3 separate regions of the Homo sapiens genome follow, and regions 2 and 3 are each linked to region 1. Evidence: promoter capture Hi-C in 16 types of primary human blood cells and fetal thymus (Javierre and others, 2016). All regions are on one chromosome and are shown on one strand. The core of a region is centred on a gene start or on the middle of the fragment in contact, and the rest is flanking DNA. Distances in the headings are between cores, read along the strand shown.

Region 1 (4,282 bases), core at 992-3,491:
GAGGTTCCTGAATGGAGTCAGTGGGTTTCGGGGTTTCTGTATATGTTGTCAGTGTGTAACTGTGTCTCTTAAAGTCTGCACATCTGTGTCCCGGAATGTGTGTGTTTGCGAGGCTTTGGTAAGTGTGTGTTTGTCTGAGTCTTGCTTTCCTTCAGTGACTCTGTTGTTTTGTTTCGTTTAGAGACAGAATCTTGCTCAGTCACCCAGGCTGGAGTGCAGTAGCATGATCACGGCTCACTGCAGCCTTGAACTCCTGGGCTCAAGCAATCCTCCCACCTCAGCCTCCTGAGTAGCTGGGACTACAGATGTGCACCATCATACCTGGCTCATTTTTTTTTTTTTTTTAAGAGATAGGGTCTTGGCCAGGCACGGTGGCTCACGCCTGTAATCCCAGCACTTTGGGAGTCCGAGGTGGGCGGATCACGAGGTCAGGAGATCGAGACCATCCTGGCTAACACGGTGAAACCCCGTCTCTACTAAAAAATACAAAAAAATTTAGCCAGGCGCGGTGGCAGGCGCCTGTAGTCCCAGCTACTCGGGAGGCTGAGGCAGGAGAATGGCAGGAACCCGGGAGGCGGAGCTTGCAGTGAGCCGAGATTGCACCACTGCACTCCAGCGTGGGAGACAGAGCGAGACTCCGTCTCAAAAAAAAAAAAAAAAAAAAGAGATAGGGTCTTGCTATGTTGCCCAGGCTGGTCTCAACCTCCTGGGCTCAAGCAAACCTCCTACCTCGGCCTCCCAAATTGCTGAGATTACAGGCGTGAGTGAGCCGCCATGCCCAGCCACGAAGTAACTCTGTATTTGAGGCTCTTTCTGTGTCTTTCCCTTCTCTCTTGGGCCAGGGGTGCGTGTCCATGCATTTTGGGAAGGAGTCCTTGCTGTCTGCTGGTCTGTGTGCTCGGTGTCCGGGGAAGTCTGAGAACCATGTTGTTCACTCTCTTCAGCTCTGTGTGTTTGTGTCAGTCAGTGAGAGCATGAGTGAGTCGTGTGTCTTTTGCCCTGCACCTCCCTTTCACCTGTGGCTTAAGAACTCTGTACTATGCGGCCAACAGCCCACTCTTCCCCAGCTCTCAGGGTGGCTCTGAGCTAGTCTATTCCCCTTCTGGGCCTCTCTCTCCTTAGTTGTTCTCAGAGGCTCCTTTCCAGAACTGGCCTGCAGATGGTCAGGAAAATCCTCTGAGTAGCGTTATTGTAAATTCCCTACAAGAGGAGAATGGAGAAGGCCCTGTGGAGCCTGGCCTGGGCAGAGAGGAAGCCCGGAGGGGAGACAGGACAGAGACACTTATAAAGGACAAGAAGGGGCCGGGTGTAGTGGCTACACCTGTAATCTTAGCGCTTTGGGAGGCGGCATAACCTGAGGTCAGGAGGTTTGGGAGGCGAGGCAGGCGGATAACCTGAGGTCAGGAGTTCAAGACCAGCCTAGGCAACATGGTGAAACCCCACCTCTACTAAAAAAAAAAAAAAAAAAAAAAAATTAGCCAAGCCTGGTGGTGCATGCTAGTAGTCCCAGCTACTCAGGAGGCTGAAGCAGGAGAATCACTTGAACCCAGGAGGCGGAGGTTGCAGTGAGCCAAGATTGTGTCACTGCACTCCAGCCTGGGTGACAGAGCAAGACACTGTTTCAAAAAAAGAAAAAAAAGAAATCAATGACTAAATTATTGGGCTTACAAGATAGCAGATCAGCCTCCCGAGTAGCTGGGACTACATGCATGCACCACATCTGGCTAATTTTTGTATTTTTAGTAGAGATGGAGTTTCACCACATTGCCCAGGCTGATCTCAAACTCCTGGCCTCAAGTGATGCACTCGCCTCGGCCTCCCAAAGTGCTGGCATTACAGGCGTGAGCCACTGTGCCCACCAGCAATGACCGAATTTGTATCATCAACTTTCACACTTCTCTGGGGAACTGACAGTCCCCTGGGTGGAGGGTGGAGTGGTAGCAGGGCCAAGCCCTTGGAAACCAATCTGTGAATCTGAGACTTTGTCCTTGGGGGGTGATGGAGACCATGGAGGATTTTGAACAGGTCTTGGTGTTAGAAAGATCTCTCTGGAGTCTTCAGGGGAACTGGAGGGCCCAGTGTGAGTGGGTGGTGACCCCATGAGCAGCTGGGGCTTGGGGTCCCTGCTCCACCTCCGGGCCCCACCCCCTGACATCACTGTCGCATTATTGCACCAGGTCTGGCTGACCAATAAGCTGCTGCTTGCTATGATAATGGGTCCTAGCAACGGTGTCTGACCTTGGCTAAGAGGGAAGGAGATCCTATCAGTGGGGAGAGTGTGAGGGGAGAGGGAGAGCCTGCAGGGCAGGTGAGTCCCCCAGGGCTCTCTCGCTGGGCCCCTGTGCGTGGGCGGAGCAGGAGCTTATGGTCTAATCCGGACCCCCTCAGCCCAAATTCCAACCACTGACTTGTCTGCCCCTTGCTGCCAGGACCTGTTCCAGGTTCCTACTCTTCCCACCGCAGACCATACTAGGGAGAGGGCACACCCAGGATAGGAGGCTCAGATCTGGAGGCAACAATGTCTTTTTTTTTTCCTTTTTTTTTTTCTGAGACGGAGTCTCGCTCTGTCGCCCAGGCTGGAGTGCAGTGGTGCAATCTTGGCTCACTGCAACCTCCGCCTCCTGGGTTCAAGAGCTGGGACTACAGGCATGCGCCACAACACCTGGCTAATTTTTGTATTTTTAGTGGAGATGGAGTTTCACCATGTTGGCCAGGCTGGTCTCGAACTCCTGACCTCAAGTGATCCACCCACCTCGGCCTCCCAAAGTGCTAGGATTACAGGCGTGAGCCACCATGCCCAGCCGGGAACAATGTCTTAAGGACATATTTCTGTGGGGGGTGGAGTGGGGTAGCAGAGGATGGGGTGAGTGGTAGGAGGTGAAGAGACGGGGTGCAGGGGGCAAGGAGACAATGCAGGAGGCAGGGACATGCAGCTGAAGGGAGAGTAGCTCTCTAGGTGGGTGAAGGAGCCTGGGGACCTGGGTTGGGGTCCTGGCTATGCCTCTGGATGAGGAGACCTCATTTGTCTTGTCTGAGCCTCAGTCCTTCTCCCTGTCAAATGGGGACAGTGATCCCAGACATGAGCAGCTCTCCCAGGGCACCCTGAAGACCCTTAGTGAGTAAATGTATTTTAGAGATGATGGGCCAGAGGAGGGTGAGTGGGAAGAGGGAGGACCAGGGAAGCTCCTGGTGAGGAGGAGGGATCTGAGGGGGGACCATCACGACAGGAGCTCTGGGCGGTGGGAGGGGAACTGAACCCCGGGAGGCAAGGGCTGCCATGGCAGGGGTGGGGTTTCATGGAAATGACTCCTGGTGTCCAGGTGGTCCCCATGTCTGGCTTCCCGAACCCAAGGGCGTCTGAACCCAAAGTCAGCCTAGGGCTAGCTGAACGGGGTTTGTGGGCATCACAGCAGCCCTGCGAGGTGGGGAGGAGTATCCCCCACGGGGCAGCTGAGGCTCAGACAGGGCGAGGACTTGCTCAAAGTCACACAGCTAAGAATATTACTAATGATAAGAATAATGACGATGATGGTGATGCCAATGACACGAGGCACCTGCCCTGAGCCAGGCGCCGTTTTATGGGCTGCTTTATGTCATAACTCATTCAAGTCACAGAGATCCTAGGAGGTGGTTTGCCAGGATTGTAGGTATCATTCTCAGTGTTCAGATGAGGAGAGTGAGGAGAGAGTTAAGTAACTTGCCTCACATCACTCAGTAAGTATGTGGTGGAGCCAGGATTTGATCCCAGGCAGTCTGGCTCCGGGTCTGGGTCCCCTCCACCCTACCCTCCAATCCCAGCCACCGCAGGAGTGCAGCTGTTTCCTCTGAATGGGCCTGTACCACCCTTTCCTATGCAGCCCTGGCTATGTAATTTGCCCTGGCTATATAATTTGCAAGGCCCAGTACGAAATGAAAATATGGGGCCCCTGGTTCAAATATTATAAAGAATTTCAGGCCAGGCATAGTGGCTCATGCCCTTAATCCCAGCGCTCTGGGAAGCTGAGGCAGGAGGACCTTGATCTCGGAAGTTCAAGACCAGCTGGGACAACATAGTGAGACTCCCATCTCTACAAAAAATTTAAAAAGTAGCTGGGCATGGTGGCATGCGCCTGTGGTCCCAGCTGTTCAGGAGGCTGAGGTGGGAGGATTGCTAGAGCCAAGGAGATCAAGGCTGCAATGAGCCATGATCGTAGCACTGTGCTCCAGCCTCGATGACAGAGAGACCCTGTCTCAAACAAACAAACAAACAAACAAACAATTTCAGCTAGTGTCAGCAGAGCAT
Region 2 (4,282 bases), core at 1,011-3,510, 300 kb before region 1:
TGCAGAAGATCTCAATCCTTTACAAGTAGGAAGGAAAAGCCTGTTGGTTTGAGAGGGAACTGGGTGTGTGCATAGGCCTGTTGGTAGGAGAACTGGAGCACTCAAAAAGGGAGCTGCACGATGCTTATGCCGGCTTCACTGAGGGCTGTGGGCATTGGAGGAATGGGCTTTGAAGGACAATTAGGAGTTTGTGGGGTAAACAAATGCATGGGGGAAGCGGATTAGGGAGAGGTCTCCCATGCAGAGGGACCAGTGTGAGCAAAGCCAAAGAGGCTGGAAGAGACTAGGGATGTCCTGGGAATAGATATTAGACAGGGAATGATAAGGGTGAGGCATGGGGGCTGGTCTCCAAGACCAGTGTGGGAGGTTGGAATTTTCCCCCAGGAATACAGGAAGCATGGAAAAAATTCTGAGGATGGAATACGGAGGGCCTGAGGTATGTGGTGGCTCACTGTTGTGTGTTTCTCATTTCTGGATCTAAGAGACATTCTTTAATCCAGCAAATGTTTACTTACCTACACTGTAATCATATGCTGAGTACACAGAGATGGATCAGACACAGCTGGAAGGAACCAGATACACACATGCCCATGCACACATGCACACTGACATGTACACCGAGACACACACATCAGACACACATTCACACACAGCACACAGATACACACAGACATACATATATACAGACATGTGCACACACAAACATGCATGCACTCACAGTCACACATGAACACACATAGCCAATTATACTATAAAGTACAAAAAAAAAATTTTTTTTTGAGACAGGGTCTTGCTCTGTCACCAGAGCAAAAGCTGGAGTACAGTGGCGTTATCTCGGCTCACTGCAACTGCAACCTCCACCTCCTGGGCTCCAGCGATCCTCCCACCTCAGCCTCCCAAAGTGTTGGGATTACAGGCATGAGCCATGGCACCCAGCCTAGAATCTTACTTGAGGTAAAATGAGAATCCACTGGAAGGTTTTGGTTTTTTTGAAACAGAGTCTTGCTCTGTCACCCAGGCTGCAGTGCAGTAGCACAATCTTGACTCACTGCAGCCTCCACCTCCCAGGTTCAAATGATTCTCTCGCTGCAGCATCCAGAGTAGCTGGGATTACAGGGGCGCACCACCACGCCCAGCTAATTTTTTCATTTTTAGTGGAGACAGGGTTTCACCATGTTGGCCAGGCTGGTCTCGAACTCCTGATCTCAGGTGATCCACCACCTCGGCCTCCCAAAGTGCTGGGATTACAGGCCTGAGCCACCGTGCCTGGCCCATTAGAAAGTTTTAAACAGGAGTAATGTGGTGTGGCTTGCAATTAAGAGATCGCTCTGGTGCCAGGTGGGAAATAGCCACATGGGCAAGGGCAGGGCGTACTGCAATAATCCAGTGACCAATGGTGGTGTCACAAGTGCTTATATAAAAAGATGCCTTCACTGTATATTAGCCATTGAGCTTTTTTCTTTTTTACAAACGTTCCATGGATTCATAAACTATTTGCCAACCATTGCTCTAGACTAACCTCCTCATTTTCTTTTTTTTCTTTTTTTTCTTTTTTTTTGAGACCAAGACCAAGTTTTGCTCTTGTTGCCCAGGCTGGAGTGCAATGGTGCAGTCTCAGCTCACTGCAACCTCCGCCTCCCAGGTTCAAGTGATTCTCCTGCCTCAGCCTCCCAAGTAGCTGGGATTACAGGCGCGTGCCACCAGGCCTGGCTAATTTTTGTATTTTTAGCAGAGACAGGGTTTCACCGTGTTGGTGAAGGTCAGGCTGGTCTCAAACTCCTGACCTCAGGTGAACCACCCACCTTGGCCTCCCAAAGTGCTGGGATTATGGGCTTGAGCCACTGCACCCAGCCTAACCTCTTCATTTTCTAGATGAGGACACTGAAGCTTGGAGAGGAACAGAAATTGGCTCAGGCTAAGGAAGATCTGTCAATCTCTCTTGCACCAAAAAGGCAAAGCCACCTTTCTCAAGGGGCTGTGTATTGGGGTGTTCTTGCACTGCTATAAAGAAATACCTGAGACTAGAAGTAATTTATAAGAAAAGAGGTTTGATTGGCTCAAGGTTCTGCAGCTGTACAGGAAGCGTGGTGCCAGCATCTCCTTCTGGGGAGGCCTCAGAGAGCTTTTACTTATGGCAAAAGGATGCAGGCCAGAGAAGGGGAGCGAGAGAGAGTAAGAAGGGGAGGTGCCACACACTTAAACAACCAGATCTGGCAAGGACTCACTCATCATTGCAAGGACAGCACCAAGTCATGAAGGATCTGCCCCCATAACCCAAACACCTTCCACCAGGTCGCATCTCCAACACTGGGAATTACATTTCAACATGAGATTTGGGCGGGGGACAAATATCCAAACTATGTCACGGAGCAAGAGGAGGTCCCTGGAGCTGTTGAAGCAGAAATGGGGTGAAGAATAGAGGTGGAGGGTGCTTAGGCTTCCAAGGTCTCTTCTAGGTGTGAGATGGAGGGATTCTGCGACCAAGTCACCTGGAGAGTGACTCAACAAGGTGACTGCTTTCCCAAGCACGAGCCCTCGGGGGACAGACGGGGGCTGAAAACTGGCACACATTCTTCCTGGATCCTTTGACATGTGATCATTCAAAGATAACAGTTCAAAGATAACAAAGGGATTGAAGCTTTACCAATCCCTTTCTTATTGTGGCATTTTCTCTATTAAAAATAAATACTCATTTATACTATAACTTACAGAATCAGTACCAATTCTGAAAGTATACAAAGCGTTGCCTTACTTTAAGGAAGGAGACCACTACTACTCCTGCTGCCCTCCTCCCCCGACCTTGCCTAGTTCACAAGACAGGAGGAAAGAGAGAAAGCAAAAAGTTGGAAAGAAACAGAAGTAAGATAAATAGCCAGTCAACCTTGGCACCACCACCCAGCCCTAGGAGTTAAAAAAAGTAATAATAATAACAGCAACCCCTGACCTAAACTACTTGTGTTATCTGTAAGTTCCAGACATTATATGAAAAAGCATTGCAAAACTTTCTGTTCTGTTACCTGATGCATGTAGCCCCCAGTCACGTTTCCCACGCTTGCTCGATTTATCACGACCCTTTCATGTGGACCCCTCGAAGTTGTAAGCCTTTAAAAAGGCCAAGAATTGGCCAGGCGTGGTGGCTCATGCCTGTAATCCCAGCACTTTGGGGGGCGGGCGGATCACGAGGTCAGGAGATCGAGACCATCCTGGCTAACACAGTGAAACCCCATCTCTACTAAAAATACAAAAAAATTAGCCGGGTGTGGTGGTGGGTGACTGTAGTCCCAGCTACTCGGGAGGCGGAGGCAGGAGAATGGCATGAAGTCGGGAGGCAGAGCTTGCAGTGAGCCGAGATTGCACCACTGCACTCCAGCCTGGGCAACAGAGGGAGACTCCAAAAAAAAAAAAAAAGGCCAAGAATTTATTTTTCAGGGAGCTCGGCTCTTAAGACGCAAGTCTGCTGAGGCTCCCGGCCAAATAAACCTCTTCCTTCTTTAATCCAGTATCTGAGGAGTTTTGTCTGCAGCTCATCCTGCTACAACTTCATGTCACACCTGGAAAGCTTACATAGGCCAGGGGTGGTGGCTCACGTCTGTAATCCCAGTACTCTGGGAGGCCGAGGTGGGCAGATCACCTGAGGTTAGGAGTTCAAGACCAGCCTGGTCAACACGGCGAAACCCCGTCTCTACTAAAAATACAAAAATTAGCCAGGTGTGGTGGCAGGTGCCTGTAATCCTAGCTGCTCAGGGGAGACTGAGGCATGAGAATCGCTTGAACCTGGGAGAGGGAGGTTGCAGTGAGCTGAGATCACGTCACTGCACTCCAGCCTGGGGGATAGAGAGAGGCTCTGTCTCCAAAAAAAAAATACAAAAAATTAGCCAGGCATGGTAGCTTATGCCTGTAATCCCAGCTACCTGGGAGGCTGTGGTAGGAGAATCACTTGAACCCAGGAGGAGGAGGTTGCAGGGAGCCAAGATTGTGCCATTGCACTCCAGCCTGGGCAAAAAGAGCAAAAGTCTGTCAAAAAGGGAAGGGAAGGGGAGGGGAAGGGAGGGGAGGGGAGGGAAGGGAAGGTTACATAGATGTGAAAGTGAACTGCCAGCCATGAGCAACAAATCCGAGTGACATGTCTTCTTCATGGTCCTGACACGGACGCGTGGGTTCGATCTGACAGCAGCCTGTGCCATCATAGCTACTGCTCATGCATGCATTCGGGGTGCCCAAAGTGATGCTGAGGGGGGCATTCCTAGATTCAACCCTCCAGGAGACCATGAGGAGGCTGGTG
Region 3 (4,282 bases), core at 637-3,136, 270 kb before region 1:
TTTTTTTTTTTGAGACAGAGTCTTGCTCTGTTGCCCTAGGCTGGAGCGTAGTGGCGCAACCTTGTCTCACTGCAGCCTCTGCCTGCTGGGTTCAAGTGATTCTTCTGCCTCAGCCTCCAGAGTAACTGGGATTACAGGCATGTGCCACCATGCCCGGCTAATTTGTTGTTGTTGTTGCTGTTGCTGCTGCTGTTGTTGTTGTTGAGACGGAGTCTCACTCTGTCATCCAGGCTGGAGTGCAATCGTGAGATCTTGGCTCACTGCAACCTCCGCCTCCCGGGTTCAAGCTATTCTCATGTCTCAGCCTCCCGAGTAACTGGGATTACAGGCACCCACCACCACGCCTGGCTAATTTTTGCATTTTTAGTAGAGACGGGGGTGTCGCTATGTTGACCAGGCTGGTCTCGAACCCCTGACCTCAGGTGAACCATCCGCCTCGAACTCCCAAAGTGCTAGGATGACAAGCATAAGCCACCATGCTGGTAGTTGCATTCTTTTCAGTTTCTGATTAGCCTCTCCAAATGGGGCAATGAGATATGCATTTATCTCAGTGAGCAGAGCGGTGACTTTGAATAGAATGGGAGGCAGGTTCACCCTAAGCTGTTCCCAGCTTGACTTTTCCCTTTAGCTTTGGTGATTTTGGGGCCCCAATATTTATTTTCCTCTCACAGCTCAGAACTGTGCTTGGTGCCATGAGTGTTTGTCGCATAGCTGTTGGTAAATGCAGGATGGGCATTGCAGGCAGAAGGAACAGGAAGTGCAAAGGTTCTGAGAAGGGAATGGGTCTCTGTGGCTAAGGCTCATCCAGGAGACCTGCGTGGCTGCAGCGGAGCAGGCAGTGGTTAGTGCAAGAAGTTGCGGCCAGCACAGCGGTCAGGGCCAGACCCTGTGGGCATGCCAAGGGCACAGTGCTTCCGCTAAATGAGAAGAGAAGCCACTGGAGTGTTTCAAAAGTTAACCATTATTGGCCAGGCATGGTGACTCATGCCTGTAATCCCAATGCTTTGGAAGGCCAAGGTGGGAGAATTGCTTGAGCCCAGGAGTTCAAGACCAACCTGGGCAACAAAGTGAGACCCCATCTCTACAAGAAATTAGACAGGTGTGGTGGCACACACCTGTAATCCCAGCTACTCTCCAGGCTGAACTGGGAAGATGGCTTGAGCCTGGGAGGTCAAGACTGCAGTGAGCTATGATCACGCCACTGCACTCCAACCTGGGTGACAGAGTGAGGCCCTCTTTCAAGAAAGAAAAAAACTAATAATAATATTGTTCAATGAAATTTACCAGAGGCCACTAGTTTGGACCAAGCTTCTGTGCAAAGCCCAACAGACCAAACCAAAATGGAGTCACTCGTGCTAACTTCCACATCACCAAGCCAAAACTCAATTGTTTTACCTGACCTTCCAAAAAATCAGGAGAGTGAAAGATAACAGCCAAGTCCCCAAGCAGGCCAGTTTTAGCCTGCATGATAAGGAAACCCCTGTCCTTTAACCTTTACAAGGAAAGTAATTTTGAAATGGCCAATACACTTTTTCTTCTCTGTTTCTGCAGTCTCTGCCCTTTCTGTCTATAAAACCAACCTCTTTTGCTCGACTCATCAGAATACTCATTCTGTCTCTTATAATTCGATGTTGCCCAATTCTAAAATCACAAATAATAACCAGTTAAGATCTTTAAGCAGGCTGGGCACAGTGGCTCATGCCTGTAATCCCAGCACTTTGGGAGGCCAAGGCAGGTGGATCACTTGAGGTCAGTAGTTCGAGACCAGCCTGGCCAACATGTATCTTTTGTAAAGACATAAAAATTAGCCAGGCATGATGGTGCATACTTGTAATCCCAGCTATTTGGGAGGCTGAGGTGGGAGGGAATCTATAAGCAAATTTGTTGTGATTTTGTCTTTTGACAGTTCAAGGACTGAACACTTTCTCTTTTTTTTTTTTTTGAGACAGAGTCTTGCTCTGTCACCAGGCTGGAGTGCAGTGGGGCAATCTTGGCTTACTGCAACCTCCACCTCCCGGGTTCAAGCAATTATCTTGCCTCAGCCTCCCGAGGGGCTGGGATTACAGGCACCTGCCACCACGCCTGGCTAATTTTTGTATTTTTATTAGAGGTGGGGTTTCACCATGTTGGCCATGCTGGTCTCGAAATCCTGACCTCATGATCTGCCTGCCTCAGCCTCCCAAAGTGCTGGGATTACAGTCATGAGCCAACACGCCTGGCCGGACTAAGCACTTTCACCTTTATTCTTTTCTGTCTCCAAACTCATCCACAATCTCACCCAGCTTGGACTCACCCCTGGCAGTTCATCTCCACCCTGACCTTGCTTTAGCAATGATCTTTCATTTCATTCATCCCTTCTTTTGGGGCCTTTCCATGACTCTAGACTCTGAGGGTATACAATAGTGAGCAATGCAGACTCAGATCCTGCCCAGAACATTCCCTAACACACAGTAGGTGTTCATTAAAAGCTTTTAGAATGAATAAGAATAGTTGTTTTTTTAAGACCCTACTAACAAAATAAAAAGTTGACATCCTTAATGCTTGACCCTCCAATTTTGTCTTTGAAGCTTGATGGTTCACAATCTCCAAACTGGTTTACAGCACAAAGTCCCAATGCCAAGGTTCTTTCCCAAATGGGCCTGACCTAATTCCCCAGCCTCATCTCCCTGCTCTCTCCCAGGTTGCTGCACCCAGTTCCGGACACAAGGCATGTTCGCTCAGGCCTCTGCACGTGCTCCTTGTTATTTAAGATCCCGCTCCTGGTCTTATCCATCACGACCTCTGAGAAGATGTCCTGGAAACCCAGACAGAGCTTTGTCCCTGTGTCTGCTGCAGATTTAGGTGAATGTTGGTGCAAGTGCATTCGCCAAATAGCAGTAGTACTTTCCGAGAGTCCAGCCAGGGGCTGGATGCTGATGCTTAGCTGACATTGCTGCTCCAAGCCGCCAGAGGGCGCATGGAAAACACCAATCTGACTTGCAGGGTGAAAACCCTACAGGAGCTCCCAGTTTCTCGTATAATTAACAGTTAAGGTGCCACTGTTCTTGTTTTGTTTGTTTGTTTTGAGGCAGGGTCTTGCTCTGTCACCCAGGCTGGAGTGCGGTGGCGCAATCTCGGCTCTCTGCAGCCTCGTCATCCTGGGCTCAAGTGAACCTCCCACCTTTTGACACAGAAAAGTTGGCTTATCAGTGGTTCATTTTGTTAACCCATGTTCATGAGTTTCTTGTGATGTGCTAATTTACTGCTGATATTTAGGATAGTCCTGTTGATCCTAATAAATTCCTAATTGTTGTTCTTGTTTCATCGGTTCACCGTGAACCAGTGGATGTTGTCTCACTCTTATCCCTGATGCACACTGGCACTTTTATATGAAGTGCCCTTGATGACACTAGTGATGATGGTTGTCACTAGAGTGGTACTTGCATTCTGGATTATCTTACTGCACTTTAGCTTGCTAGGTGAGCACTCAAACTCCCTAGTAGCTGAGACCACAGGTGCGTACCACTCAGCTAATTTTTGTATTTTAGCAGAGATGGGGTCTCGCTATATTGCCCAAGCTGGGCAGACTCATGGGCTCAAGTGATCCTCCCATCTCAGCCTCGCATAGTGCTGGGATTACAGGCATGAGCCACCGCGCCCCACCAAGATGCCACTGTTTTTTGTTTGTTTTTCTGGGGCTTGGGGGGCTTTTTTGTTTTGTTTTTTTGTTGTGGGGGGAGTTCGAGACAGAGTATCACTCTGTTGCCCAGGCAGGAGTGCAGCGGCATGGTCTCGGCTCACTGCAACCTCCGCCTCCTGGGTTCAAGCGATTCTCCTGCCTCAGCCTCTTGAGTAGCTGGGATTAGTCAGGCCCGCCACCAGGCCTGACTAATTTTTTTTGTATTTTTAGTAGAGATGGGTTTTCACCATGTTGGCCAGGCTGGTCTCAAACTCCTGACTTCAAGAGATCTGCCTGCCTTGGCCTCCCAAAGTGCTGGGATTACAGGCGTGAGCCACCGCGCCTGGCCAATGCCACTGTTTTTGAGGTGGGAGGCTGGACTCACCTCCAGAGGTGGGACTTGGGTATGGGACCAAATTGAGGACTAGCTAAGCAGTTTCCCATAATACACGCCCACCAGTATGCCACGTCAGTTTACCGTTGCCATGGCAACACCTGGGAGTTACTGCCCCTTTCCATGCCAATAACCCCACAAGCCAAAAGTCATTACCCCTTCCCTAGAAATTTCTGCATAAACCGCGCCTTAATCTACATGTAATTAAAAGTAAGTATCGGGCTGAGCAC

Evidence for each region. The method cuts DNA at HindIII sites, captures the fragments that hold promoters and counts their contacts. A CHiCAGO score of 5 or more calls a contact.
Region 2: a contact is called between a fragment that was not itself captured here and the fragment with the promoter of IRGC in region 1, in 8 of 17 cell types (total CD8 T cells, naive CD4 T cells, naive CD8 T cells and 5 more). The highest score is 8.2, in total CD8 T cells.
Region 3: a contact is called between a fragment that was not itself captured here and the fragment with the promoter of IRGC in region 1, in 5 of 17 cell types (monocytes, total B cells, activated CD4 T cells and 2 more). The highest score is 6.5, in monocytes.

The regions. Positions count from the first base shown.
Region 1 is chr19:43,713,835-43,718,116 of GRCh38, forward strand. It overlaps IRGC (immunity related GTPase cinema), which reads left to right and starts at 2,242. Exons shown (of 2, transcript NM_019612.4): 1 at 2,242-2,308. RefSeq lists an enhancer at 2,215-2,715. The HindIII fragment of the contact is 15,065 bases long and covers 1-4,282 here.
Region 2 is chr19:43,410,104-43,414,385 of GRCh38, forward strand. It overlaps a transcript of TEX101 not described here. Among named protein-coding and RNA genes, the nearest start is that of TEX101, 2.6 kb to the right of the region's middle. RefSeq lists a silencer at 2,988-3,174. The HindIII fragment of the contact is 751 bases long and covers 1,886-2,636 here.
Region 3 is chr19:43,444,259-43,448,540 of GRCh38, forward strand. No RefSeq gene overlaps it. Among named protein-coding and RNA genes, the nearest start is that of LYPD3, 19 kb to the right of the region's middle. The HindIII fragment of the contact is 1,160 bases long and covers 1,307-2,466 here.